Linked DNA regions of Homo sapiens: region 2 is linked to region 1. Evidence: promoter capture Hi-C in 16 types of primary human blood cells and fetal thymus (Javierre and others, 2016). All regions are on one chromosome and are shown on one strand. Each heading gives the region's core, a stretch centred on a gene start or on the middle of the fragment in contact. The rest is flanking DNA. Distances are from core to core; before and after follow the strand shown. Region 1 holds the start of SCARA5 (scavenger receptor class A member 5). Region 2 overlaps PBK (PDZ binding kinase).

Evidence for each region. The method cuts DNA at HindIII sites, captures the fragments that hold promoters and counts their contacts. A CHiCAGO score of 5 or more calls a contact.
Region 2: a fragment that was not itself captured here is called in contact with the fragment with the promoter of SCARA5 in region 1 in 1 of 17 cell types (monocytes); the score reaches 5.7 in monocytes.

Annotation. Positions count from the first base shown.
Region 1 is chr8:27,990,163-27,995,787 of GRCh38, forward strand. It overlaps SCARA5 (scavenger receptor class A member 5), which reads right to left and starts at 2,511. Exons shown (of 9, transcript NM_173833.6): 1 at 2,095-2,511. The HindIII fragment of the contact is 6,163 bases long and covers 1-2,809 here.
Region 2 is chr8:27,826,067-27,831,691 of GRCh38, forward strand. PBK (PDZ binding kinase) reads right to left here. Exons shown (of 8, transcript NM_018492.4): 3 at 2,039-2,132. Among named protein-coding and RNA genes, the nearest start is that of PBK, 8.9 kb to the right of the region's middle. RefSeq lists a silencer at 1,872-2,072. The HindIII fragment of the contact is 1,242 bases long and covers 2,078-3,319 here.

The DNA of each region.
Region 1 (5,625 bases), core at 1,261-3,760:
TCCTCCCCACCCCTCAGCTGGTCCAGCAGGAGCCCAGGGGATCTGCTGGGGAGAGGGACTGGGGCCGAGCGGGGCCAGATGTGAGTGCACAGGGCTTGGAAAAGCTCAGACAACTCTACTCATGTTTGTTACTTGGAATTGAAACCTACGCATGTTCTGTCTGCCCAAGGTTTCTTGGGGGCTGTTTTTCTTTCTTGGGGGAGGAAGCAGGCATTGGGACCCTCAGATCATGGATCTTACTGTCTTTGGACCAAGTCTGTGCTCTAGAAGATGAAACTGATGGCAAGTGCTCCTCCCAGGAGCACTGTGTTGGGGGTAGGCTGATGGCATTTGCATTCCGTCCCTCCCATTTTAAACATAAGCCATCCCAGACCAAAGAGGCAAAGGAAGGAATGGATATCAGAGCGGGAAGAGGCCCCGGGCACAGTTTTCCTACACAGGGCACTGGCTCAGCTGCAGGGTTGCTTTGTTTGGGAATTGCATGTCAGCCCCTTTGGTGACCACTTTCTGGGCCCCAGATCAGGCAGAGAAGAGAATCCCACCTCAGACTGCCAGCCAGTGTACTCCAGCAGGTGGGGATCCTGGGACTGAGGCAGGGCTCTGAGAGCTTGAAGCACATGGGCGAGATGTGGAAGCCACAGTGACCTGTGGATGAAGCCCAAGGAGACTGGACCTCAACTTGCAACTCAAAGAGGGAGGTCTTGCTCTAACAGGGAGGTGTCACCCTCTCCACTAACCTCTTGGCAATCATGATTTACTTCCAGACAATTTCACCCAAGGCACTTAGAAGGGCAGGTTCAGAGCCAGGGATCTGCTTCTAGATTCTGCATTTTAGAGCTGGAAAAGCCCTCAGCCATCTGTGCCCTGCAGCCCTGTGCCCTGGGGCCATCTGCGCCCTGCAGGCCTGGCTCTCTGCAGGAATGCAGGGAACACAGAAGCCAAGGGCTCCCATCCTAGCTCCTCTGCGTATTGGTTTCTTGGGGGAACTTGGCTCAATTACCTGACCTCATTCAGCCTCAGGTACATGACCTCTAAGATGGGAAGGTGGGTAGCTGCTGGTCACCCAGGATCACTGTGAGCCTCCCGTGAGATAATGCATGTGGCATGACTTTATGAACAAGGTCACTCAGGGGAGCTGGTGGCAGTCTGATGAGAAAAAGCATCCCCCAGCATCTTCTGACTCTGCCTGGCAGCCAGGTAAGGGGGTGTCCAGGTTCCCAAGGCCTCCCTCCTACCTAGCCAGTCTCAGAAACAAAGCTGTTTGAAGTTCCCTTTGTAAAAGGCAATCGCGAATGCACTCTAGGGCTGATATCAGGACCCTGGCTCTTCAATCCTTCTCTGGAGATCAGAAGGACTCCATTAATTCCTCCTCTGAGTGGGTAGCACGAGCCTCATTTGCTGCTACCAAGTCAGTTTCTCTGGGTACCCGCATCTAACTCTGCAGGGTTTATGGCTTTTCTTTGGATTACCTCACTTTAAACTCATCAAAACCAAGGAAAAAAATCACATGAGTGTGGCCCTTCTCCAAAGAGAGAATCACTAAGGAGGTTTTAAATGTTTTCCTCCTCTAACTGTACTTAGTTAAGCTAAATCATAACCCAAAGCTGGACAGAGACAGATATTTTAGAAATAACCTCTCCCCACATATATCCCACCACTGGCACATGCACACGCACAGACATGCACACACACACACATGCACACACACACACATGCACACACACACATGCACACACACACATGCACACACACGAAGCCATGGAGAGGAGCTGTCACCTGAGCCATCTGCACCCTGAGTAGGCTCTTGAGCTGTGACATGAGTCAGGTGGAGTAGCCACCAAGGCAATAGCTTCCCTCTGGCACCCCAAATGCAGGCTCACATTCTCTCCAGCCCAGGCAGTTGGATGAGGGCCCGGCAGATATCTGCGGGCCCAGCAGGCGGGGACCTTCCCACCTGGAGAAGGCACCTCCAGGCTCTAGGTCTGAAGTTTCCCAAACTCTGTACTCCTCTCCATCCAGTTCACTCCAGTCTCCTCCAGCTGTCTTTGAGACAGCATGCCCAGGAGATAGGACAAAATTAGTACCAAGACTCACCTGAGTGCCCCTGGCTGAGGCTGTAGAGCCTTGTCCCCTCAGATCTCAGCATTTGCCATGGTGGCCAGAGAGCTGGCTGCCACCACGCTGAGAGCCAGGCCGCCCCTCGGACCGCGTCCCCACAGCCAGCCAAATCCAGATGGAGTCATAGAAAGGGGCTGCAGGGGCGCCCAGGGACGAGTCTCAGAGCAGGACCACAGGGGCCACTTCTGCAGGAGGACCAGGTCAAGATGCAACCTGTGGCAGAGTGGGGGTCTGGGCCTGGGGGACCCAGAATGGGGGGTGTGCGCCTGGGACTCCCTGTCCTTGGTGCCTGGTCCTGGGTAGCGATCAGGAGATGTTCTGAGGAGGCACCGGCAGCTCCTCTAGGTACTGCCTGAGATGCGAACTGCAGCTGCTCTCGCCGCCAGTCCGTATAAAATAAAGTTCTTGGAGCAGTTGCGGAGGCTTCTGCAATGGGGTCTGGAATACGGCCCCCCTCCTGCGGCCAATCGTGGCATTACAGCCCCGTGTGGGAACGCCCGCTGGGCCCAGAGCAGCGCGGTCGGCCTTGGCCTTGGGACTCCAACACCCCAGTCTAAAGGTCCTGCTCAAAATACTTTTTGGAAGACTTCTGGGGGAGTGGCAGCTAGACCTGGCTTATGAGCCACGCAAGAAAACCAGTCTTGTAAATTTATTTATAGCACAGAATTGGCATGGCTCAATTCATTCACCAAGCTTGGCACAGAGTTACTTCATGTATTTTCCTGGAGTCACATTCATCCTCAGTGGACACGGATTGGCCACACTGGGGGTAGTCAGGAAAATGCCCCAGGGGGTTCCACGGAACTCAGCAGCAGAATCAGCGTTTCTGGCTCATTAACGCTGCACAGGGGCTGGGGGGTGCAGGATGAAGACTAGCTGGCTGTCCATAGCAATTCAGTATGGGAGGGGGACCCAGGCACGAATAATCCTAAACCTGAGCATGATTGCTTACGTTTGAAAAAGGACATCTAGGCCGGGTGCAGTGACTCACACCTGTGGTCCCAGCACTTTGGGAGGCTGAGGTGGGAGGATTGCTTGAGCCCACCCACAAGTTCAAGACCAGCCTGGGCAACATAGTGAGACCCCATCTCTAAAAAAAAAAAAAATCTCTTTAAAGGCAATCTAACCATATGTGAAGGGAGCTGCTAAATTCAGATTGAGGTGGTAGTATCAGGGGCATCAGAGAAATCACCATAATTGTCCAAGCCAGGGTGGCAGAGTTAGGCTATGCAGATGGCTTCCAGAGGACAGCACCCAGAGGTAACATTCATGAATGCATTCCTGTTTGTTGGTGAAAAGTTCAGCCTCAAGACTCCAGGGTCAGGCTTCGTACATGAAAAGTGTTTGCCAAGACTCAGCTGTGTCACTGCAGCTGCCCGCCCACAGCTGAGTCAGAAACGCCGTCCTCATTCTCAGTGACTGCCCTGCCTGACTGCCTAGGAAGCAGCTCCAACATCAAACTCCATTTTACAGAAAGAACAAATGATAATTGTATCATTATGGTAATAATCCCAGGGAGCGGAGGAGGAGAAGGAAAAGAAGACAACACTTTATAGCATATACCATGTGTTTCTTATATATTAGCTCATTGAACCTATTCAACAACCCCCTGAGGCAGGTGCTGCTATTATGCTCATTTACAGAGACAGAGAGGAAGTGACTTGTCCAGGGTCTTGTAGCCAGTAAGTGGCAGAGCTAGTATTCAACCCTAGGCAATGTGATCCTAGGGTCTATGCTCTTAACCCCTCCCCTGTACCATTGCCTCTCAAGGGGAAACAAATGTTTTTGTCCCCCATCAATTCACCAACATTCCTAGGAATGTAATCTTAAAAACAGCCAGAAATGTGCTCAAAATATGATGTCCAACCAGCCTGGGCAACATGACAAAACCCTGTCTCTACAAAAAAAAAAAAATACAAACAATAGCTGGGCGTGGTGATGCACACCTGTAGTCCCAGGTGCTTGGGAGGCTGAGATGGGAGGATCAACTGAGCCCAGGAGTTTGAGGCTGCAGTGAGCTGTGATCGCACCACTGCACCCCAGACTGGGTAACAGAACAAGATCCTGTCTTAAAAAAAAAAGTGATGTCCAAAGACCTTCCCTAAAGAGATGTGTATGTTAGCAAGAAATGTGGTAGTTAGTGTCCCCCTAAATTCAAGCATTGGAAATGTAATCTTTATTGCAACAGTGTTGGGAGGTGGGGCCTTTGTGGGGGTATTTGAGTCATGAATGTATTTGGGATGCCGTAGAAAGGGCTTGCAGGAGTGGGCTGGCTTGATCCTCTGCCTTTCTGCCATGTGAGGACTCCACGCTCATCCTCGCTTGTCCTCCCACCTCCCGCCCTGTTCGAAGCACTGAGTCCTATTGCGTGATAGGCACATACCACACACAATGTGTATATCGGTCTCCTGCTGAAGGGGGTTTGGGATGTTTCCAATCTTTGTCTATTATGAATAAAGCTGCCGGAACAGGCAAAGGGAGATTTGACAGTGAAGTATAGGAATGACCTGGAGGGCTGGTTTTCTCATGGGTGAGAGTCCTCCCGGCAGCTCTTAGCTCAGATACCTCCTTGCCACTAAAATCAGAATTGTCCCCAAAATGATTTGCTTCCATTCAATCACGGATGGCATTTGTAGTAGGCATTTCCCCCCCAGAAGCTGAATGAAAATGTGATTGCCTTGATAGAGGAGGGTTCAATAGACTTCTGAAGTAGTTTCATCTATGAAATCTCAGTATTTGAAATGGAGGGACCAAGCTTTTTCAGTTTGTTTTTTCTAGAGGTAGGATGTCACTTTATCACCCAGGTCGGAGTACAGTGGCACAATCATAGCTCACTGCAGCCTCGACCTCCCAGGCTCAAGTGATCCTCCCACCTCAACCTCCTGAGTAGCTGGGGCTACAAGCACATGCCACCACACCCAGCTAATTTTTTAAAATCCTTTGTAGAGATGAGGTCTCGCTATCTTGCCCAGGCTGGTCTCAAACTTCTGACCTCGAGCAATCCTCCCGCCTCCACCAGCCAAAGTGCTGGGATTACAGGTGTGAGCCACCATGTCCAGACTCCATTTTTGACTCTGATAAATGGTGCTGCTGTGAACATTCTTGTGTGTGTCTTCTGGGGAACATATGAATGCCATTCTCTTGGGCATATACCTGGGCATGGAATCGCCAGGGCATAGGATGGCCCTGTGTTCAGCTTTGGTAGACACTGCCAAAGAGTTTCCTATGGTGGTTGTACTAGTTTATATCCAGCAGGGGATGAAACTACACTTATTCCTTGTCCTTGTCAGTGTCAGTGATGTTTATTCCATTTTCCCTGCTCTGGTGCATTGTAGAGGTGCCATATTGTGGTTTTAATTTGCATTTTCCTGATGACTCATGAAGTTGAGCACCTTTAATTATGTCATTAAGTCTGATTGTTGACTTGAACTCTGGGCCCGTTACACCAGCAGGTCCTGCCCTATGGCTTGGGGTTGGCTGTTCCATCTGCCTGGAGTGGTTCCACCA
Region 2 (5,625 bases), core at 1,449-3,948, 160 kb before region 1:
CCAGGACAGTGGGGGGGACAGATAACATAAAACGGATTACATATGAAGAATTAGCAGTCAAAAAGGCTTCATAATTCTCAACAGCAACAGTGTAAGCTAGAAAAAAAACAATGTCAGTGACTGATATTCTCAAAATTCTGGAGGGAAATTGTTTCCAAATGAGAATTGTAACCCAGAAAACCAAAAAGGGCCATTCAAGTATGAGTAAAATGAAAACATTTTTGGAAATGCAAATTCTCAAAAAAATATATCTTCTGTGCACCGATTCATGGGGAGCTACCAGATGTCCTAAATGAAAACGGGATGTAAATCAAGAAATAATAAGACACAAGATACCTAAAAACACAGGATATAATTCAGCAGAGAAGCATAGGAAATTTGCAGGTTATGGATAAAAGAAATCCCAGGTTGACAGGGCTGAATCAGGAGGAGTGTAGGGTCAGGCAGGCACTGCTGTTCTTCAAGATCAGCTATTTGCCCAGCACTTTGGGAGGCCGAGGCGGGCGGATCACGAGGTCAGGAGATCGAGACCATCCTGGCTAACACGGTGAAACCCCGTCTCTACTAAAAATACAAAAAATTAGCCGGGCGTGGTGGCGGGCGCCTGTAGTCCCAGCTACTCGGGAGGCTGAGGCAGGAGAATGGCGTGAACCAGGGAGGCGGAGCTTGCAGTGAGCCGAGATCGCGCCACTGCACTCCAGCCTGGGCGACAGAGCGAGACTCCGTCTCAAAAAAAAAAAAAAAAAAAAAGATCAGCTATTTGAAGCTTTTTGACTAAACCACATACAGTGTAACTTTGTTAAAAACACTTTACATTTAAAAACTTTTTTTAAAAAGGGGGAAAAAAATGAAACTAGCCATAAACCTGTGAGAATTTTTTTCTTTCAAAATAGGAGTTAACACTAAAAAACAAATTAGAAAACAATACCATACAAACATACAAAAAAAATGTTTAAACTGCAAAAATGCTTCAGGAATACCCATTGTATATAATTACTAAATTATTCTTAATTAGCCTCTTATTAAAGAAAGCATTTCTATCTGGAAACAATGTAAACCTAGATGAAGCTAAGATACGGAGGGTTGGACTAGTTAGACTGATTCCAAGAATGCATTAAGGAATATATATTGATGTAGTTGTTTGCCACTTAATAAACATGAAACTAGGTACAGAGTAATGATTAAAAGAAGTAATTTTGGGCTGGGCATGGTGGCTTACACCTGTAATCCCAGCATTTTGGGAGGCGAAGGCGGGCAGATCGCTTGAGGCCAGAGTTCGAGACCAGCCTGGCCAACATGGCAAAACCCTGTCTCTACTAAAAATACAAAAATTAGCTGGGTGTGATGGTACACGCCTGTAATCCCAGCTATTCAGGAGGCTGAGGCAGGAGAAGCGCTTGAACCTGGGAGGTCGTGCCACTGCACTCCAGCCTGGTCAACAGAGTGAGACTCTGTTTCAAAAAAATATATGAATAATAAAAAAGTAATTTAAAAAAACACTTTGTTGACAGCTATATTGGCACCATACTTGTTCGATTATTTCATTTTTCTTAACACAATATTCCTACTTTAAAATCATGTATTTACCCTTCTTAATAACAATGCCATAAGAAATGAAAATCTTTTACTTCTTTTAGAAGAGCATATCTTAGGAGGGCAACGCTGCAGAAAAGACAGCAGTCACTGACATCACCCAATACTGGCTTCCTCTTTGAGGTTTTCTCATGAAGAATCTGGTTTAATTACCACAAAGGAACCCTTTCCCCTGCCACTTCCCCTTCTTATGGAAGCCAAGGAAAAATTAAAAAGTAAATGACTTCCCCTTTAATAACCCATCAGGAGGAAGCTAGGAGAAAAGCAGAGGCAGAGCTACAGGCAAAGTTACAAAAGGGTCTAGGGACCGGAATACAGCCATCAGCCAGGATCAGGAGCAGACAACCGAATCTAAATACTGGAATTTTCAGACTACTTCTTTGTCTCCAAGTACAGTAGAATTATAGTTGCATGAAAAAAGGTTAATCTGAAATCTTATACTTACCTTTTCATTAGGTACACATTTACCCCAGTACCAAAGCCAAGCTTCTGCATAAACGGAGAGGCCGGGATATTTATAGTTGGAGTTGAACATAATACTAAATGTCAGAGAAATAAAAAATAAAATTAATAAAAAATAAAAATAAAGCATCTTAACATTCTCAATATACTACTGCCAAGAGTATTAATTGGCACAGTCTTTTTGGAGAGCAATTTGACAACATATATCCTAATTTTAAATGGGTATCTTTTGACCAAGCCTACTTTTGGAGTTTTATCCTACAGTAACTCTGAAGCAGAGATTGGGAAATGGCCTGTTTTTGTATGGCCTACAAGCTAAGAACTGTTTTCACATTTTTAAAACATTGTTAAAAGATAAAGGGGTTGGATGTGGTGGCTCATGCCTATAATCTCAACGCTTTTGGAGTCCGGGGCAGGAGGGTCACTTGAGCCCAGTAGAGACCAGCTTGGGCAACATAAAGAGACTCCATCTCTACACACGAAAAAATTTTTTTAATTAGCCAGGAATGATGGCACACACCTGTGGTCTCAGCTACTTGGGAGAAACACTTGAGCCCAGGAGGTTAAGGGTGCAGGTGCAGTGAGCTGTGTTCAGCCTGGGTGACAGAGCAAGACACAGTCTCAAAAAAAAAAAAAAAAAAAAAAAAAGATGAAAAGATGGAGTTCTGCTTCTGCTCATGAAAAATAATTAACTACTCCTGGACAATTAACTGCTCCTAGAGTTACCATCTCGCCATTAACTAGAAAACTAGACAAAATATAATTGTTTTCAGACACTTGACAACAGGCAGAGCAGTGTTGTGATGCCTGAGAGAAGAGAAACAAATGAGGTGGGCCCTATCACTGCCCTAACTTACTGCTTGAAGGCAGTTTCCAGACTGCAGGACAGAGGTCACATAATCCAGAAGTCCTGTCACATTGAAGAGACAGAGATCAGAGGTCAAGAAGGACTAGGCGGCTAGAATTTGTGGAGCAGAGAACTAGAGAGCTCCAAAGAGAGCACTCCAAAGATCTGAACAGTTTCTCTTTGAGTGTTTGGCCAAGTACTTATCCGCACATAACAATGTGTAGATGCCCCAAAGCTGGGAAAGCACCAGAGGAAAGCAATTGGCTCAACAATTACCAGAGATCATACAAGTCTAGGAACACTTCATATCACCATGAGCTAGAGGATGGTAACCCTGTAACACATAGTAAAGTCCTCTAAAGGGTCACAACTAGATAGTACAGCTAAAGTTTAGCCCCAGATAAACATTCAAAACAAAGCTTAAAAGCCAGTCTCAAAAGGAACAGGCTAATGTGCAGGTAACTTAACCTCAGACCATAACTAAATCAAACACTCTTTAAAGGAATAACAAAATCCAGTACTAGACAATGCAAAATATCTACTGCCCAATCAAAAAGTACCAGGCATGAAAGCAGCAAGAAAATATGACCAATATAGGAGAAAAATAAATCAATAGAGGCCTAGCGCGGTGGCTCACGCCTGTAATCCCAGCACTTTGGGAGGCCGAGGCAGGCAGATCACTAGGTCAGGAGTTCGAGACCAGCCTGGCCAACATGGTGAAACCCCGTCTCTACTAAAGAGGCAAAAAATTAGCCAGGTGTGGTGGCACGTGCCTGTAATCCCAGCTACTCGGGAGGCTGAGGCAGGAGAATGGCGTGAACCCAGGAGGCGGAGGTTACAGTGAGCTGAGATAGCGCCATTGCACTCCAGCCTGGGCGACAGGGCACAAGACTCCATCTCAAAAAATTAAAAAATCAATCAATCAATAGAAACATACCATAAGATGACAGGAGGCCAAGAGTGGTGGCTCACGCCTGTAATCCCAGCACTTTGGGAGGCTGAGGCAGGTGGATCACTTGAGGCCAGGAGTTCAAGACCAGCCTGGCCAACATGGCGAAACCCTGTCTCTACTAAAAATACAAAAATTAGCTGGGCGTGGTAGCACGTGCCTGTAATCCCGACTACTCGGGAGGCTGAGGCAGGATAATTGCTTGAACCCAGGAGGTGGAGGTTGCAGTGAGCTGAGATCGCACCATTGCACTCCGGCCTGGGTGACAGAGCAAGATTCTGTCTCAAGAAAAAAAAAAAAAAAAAAAATGACAGGAATGGCAAAATTAGCAGATAAGAACCTTAAGACAAATCTTAAAAATGTGCTCAATGATACAAAGGAAAATCTGAGCATAACGGAAAAAAAAAGACAAAATAGAAGCTTAGGAATGAAAAATACAATGGATAAGAATAACATCATCTTAGAGCAGAAGAATAACTAAATCTTAAGACAGAGCAACAAAAACTATCAAAAATGAAGCAAAGAGAGAAAAAGGTTAGAAAAAAATCATCAATGAGCTATGGGACAATAGCAAAACAGCCGATTTACATCCAACAATAGACAATTACATTGAGTATAAATGGTCTAAACAGAGCTGTCCAATACATCATGCTGCCATGTGGAAATGTCTATATCTGTGCTGTCTGAGCGCTGAGCACTTAAAATGTGACTAATACAACTGAGGAACTCAATTTGTAATTTTATTTAATTCTAATTAATTTGTATCCAAATTTAAATAACCACATTTAATAATCCAAATTTAAATAACCAAATTTAAATAGCCACATGTAGCTAATGGCAAAACAGTCCAGTTAAAGGAAATTAAAGTTGTCAGAACGGATAAAAACAAGACGAGACATGCCATTTATAATAAACTCAATTTAAATATAAAGACGCAAATAGGGCAAGAGTAAAGGGTTGAAAAACATCATTAAAACACAAATCAAAATAAATCTGGAGTGGCTCCATTACTATCACATAAAGTGGACTCCAGAACAAAGAGTACCACTGAGGATTAAGAAGGGTATTTCGTAACAGTTAAGGTATAAATTCATCAAAAGAAATAACCATCCTAGGCCAGGCATGGTAATCCCAACACTTTGGGATCTGACTTGTGGTTTATGTGTCTTGGTGAATGTTGCATGCACTTGAAAGGGAGGCCAAGGAGAGTGGATCACTTGAGGCCAGGAGTTTGAGACCAGCCTGCCCAACATGGCGAAAACCTGTCTCTACTGAAAATACAAAAATTAGCCGGCCATGGTGGTGCACGCCTGTAATCCCAGCTACTCCAGAGGCCAAGGCACCAGAATCACTTGAGCCCAGGAGGTAGAGGTTGCAGTGAGCCGAGATCACACTGTTGTACTCCATTACGGGTGACAAAAGGAAACTCAAAAAAACAAGAAAAAGAAAAGAAATAACCATCCTAAATGTGTATGTACCTAATAACAAAGCTTCAAAATACATGAAGCAACAACTGATAGAAATTGGGGGTGGGGGGAAGCAGACAAATCCACATTGTAGTTGGAAACTTCAACTCTCTTCTCTCATAATTAATATAAAAAGTATACAGAATATCATTGACATTTGTAGAACATTGACATTTGTAGAACACCGTACCCAGTAAGAGTAGAAAAAAATGCCCTTTTCAAGTGCATGCAACATTCACCAACATACATAAACCTCAAGTCAGACTGATTAAGGAAAAAAATTAAGAAAATATACAATACTAGTACCA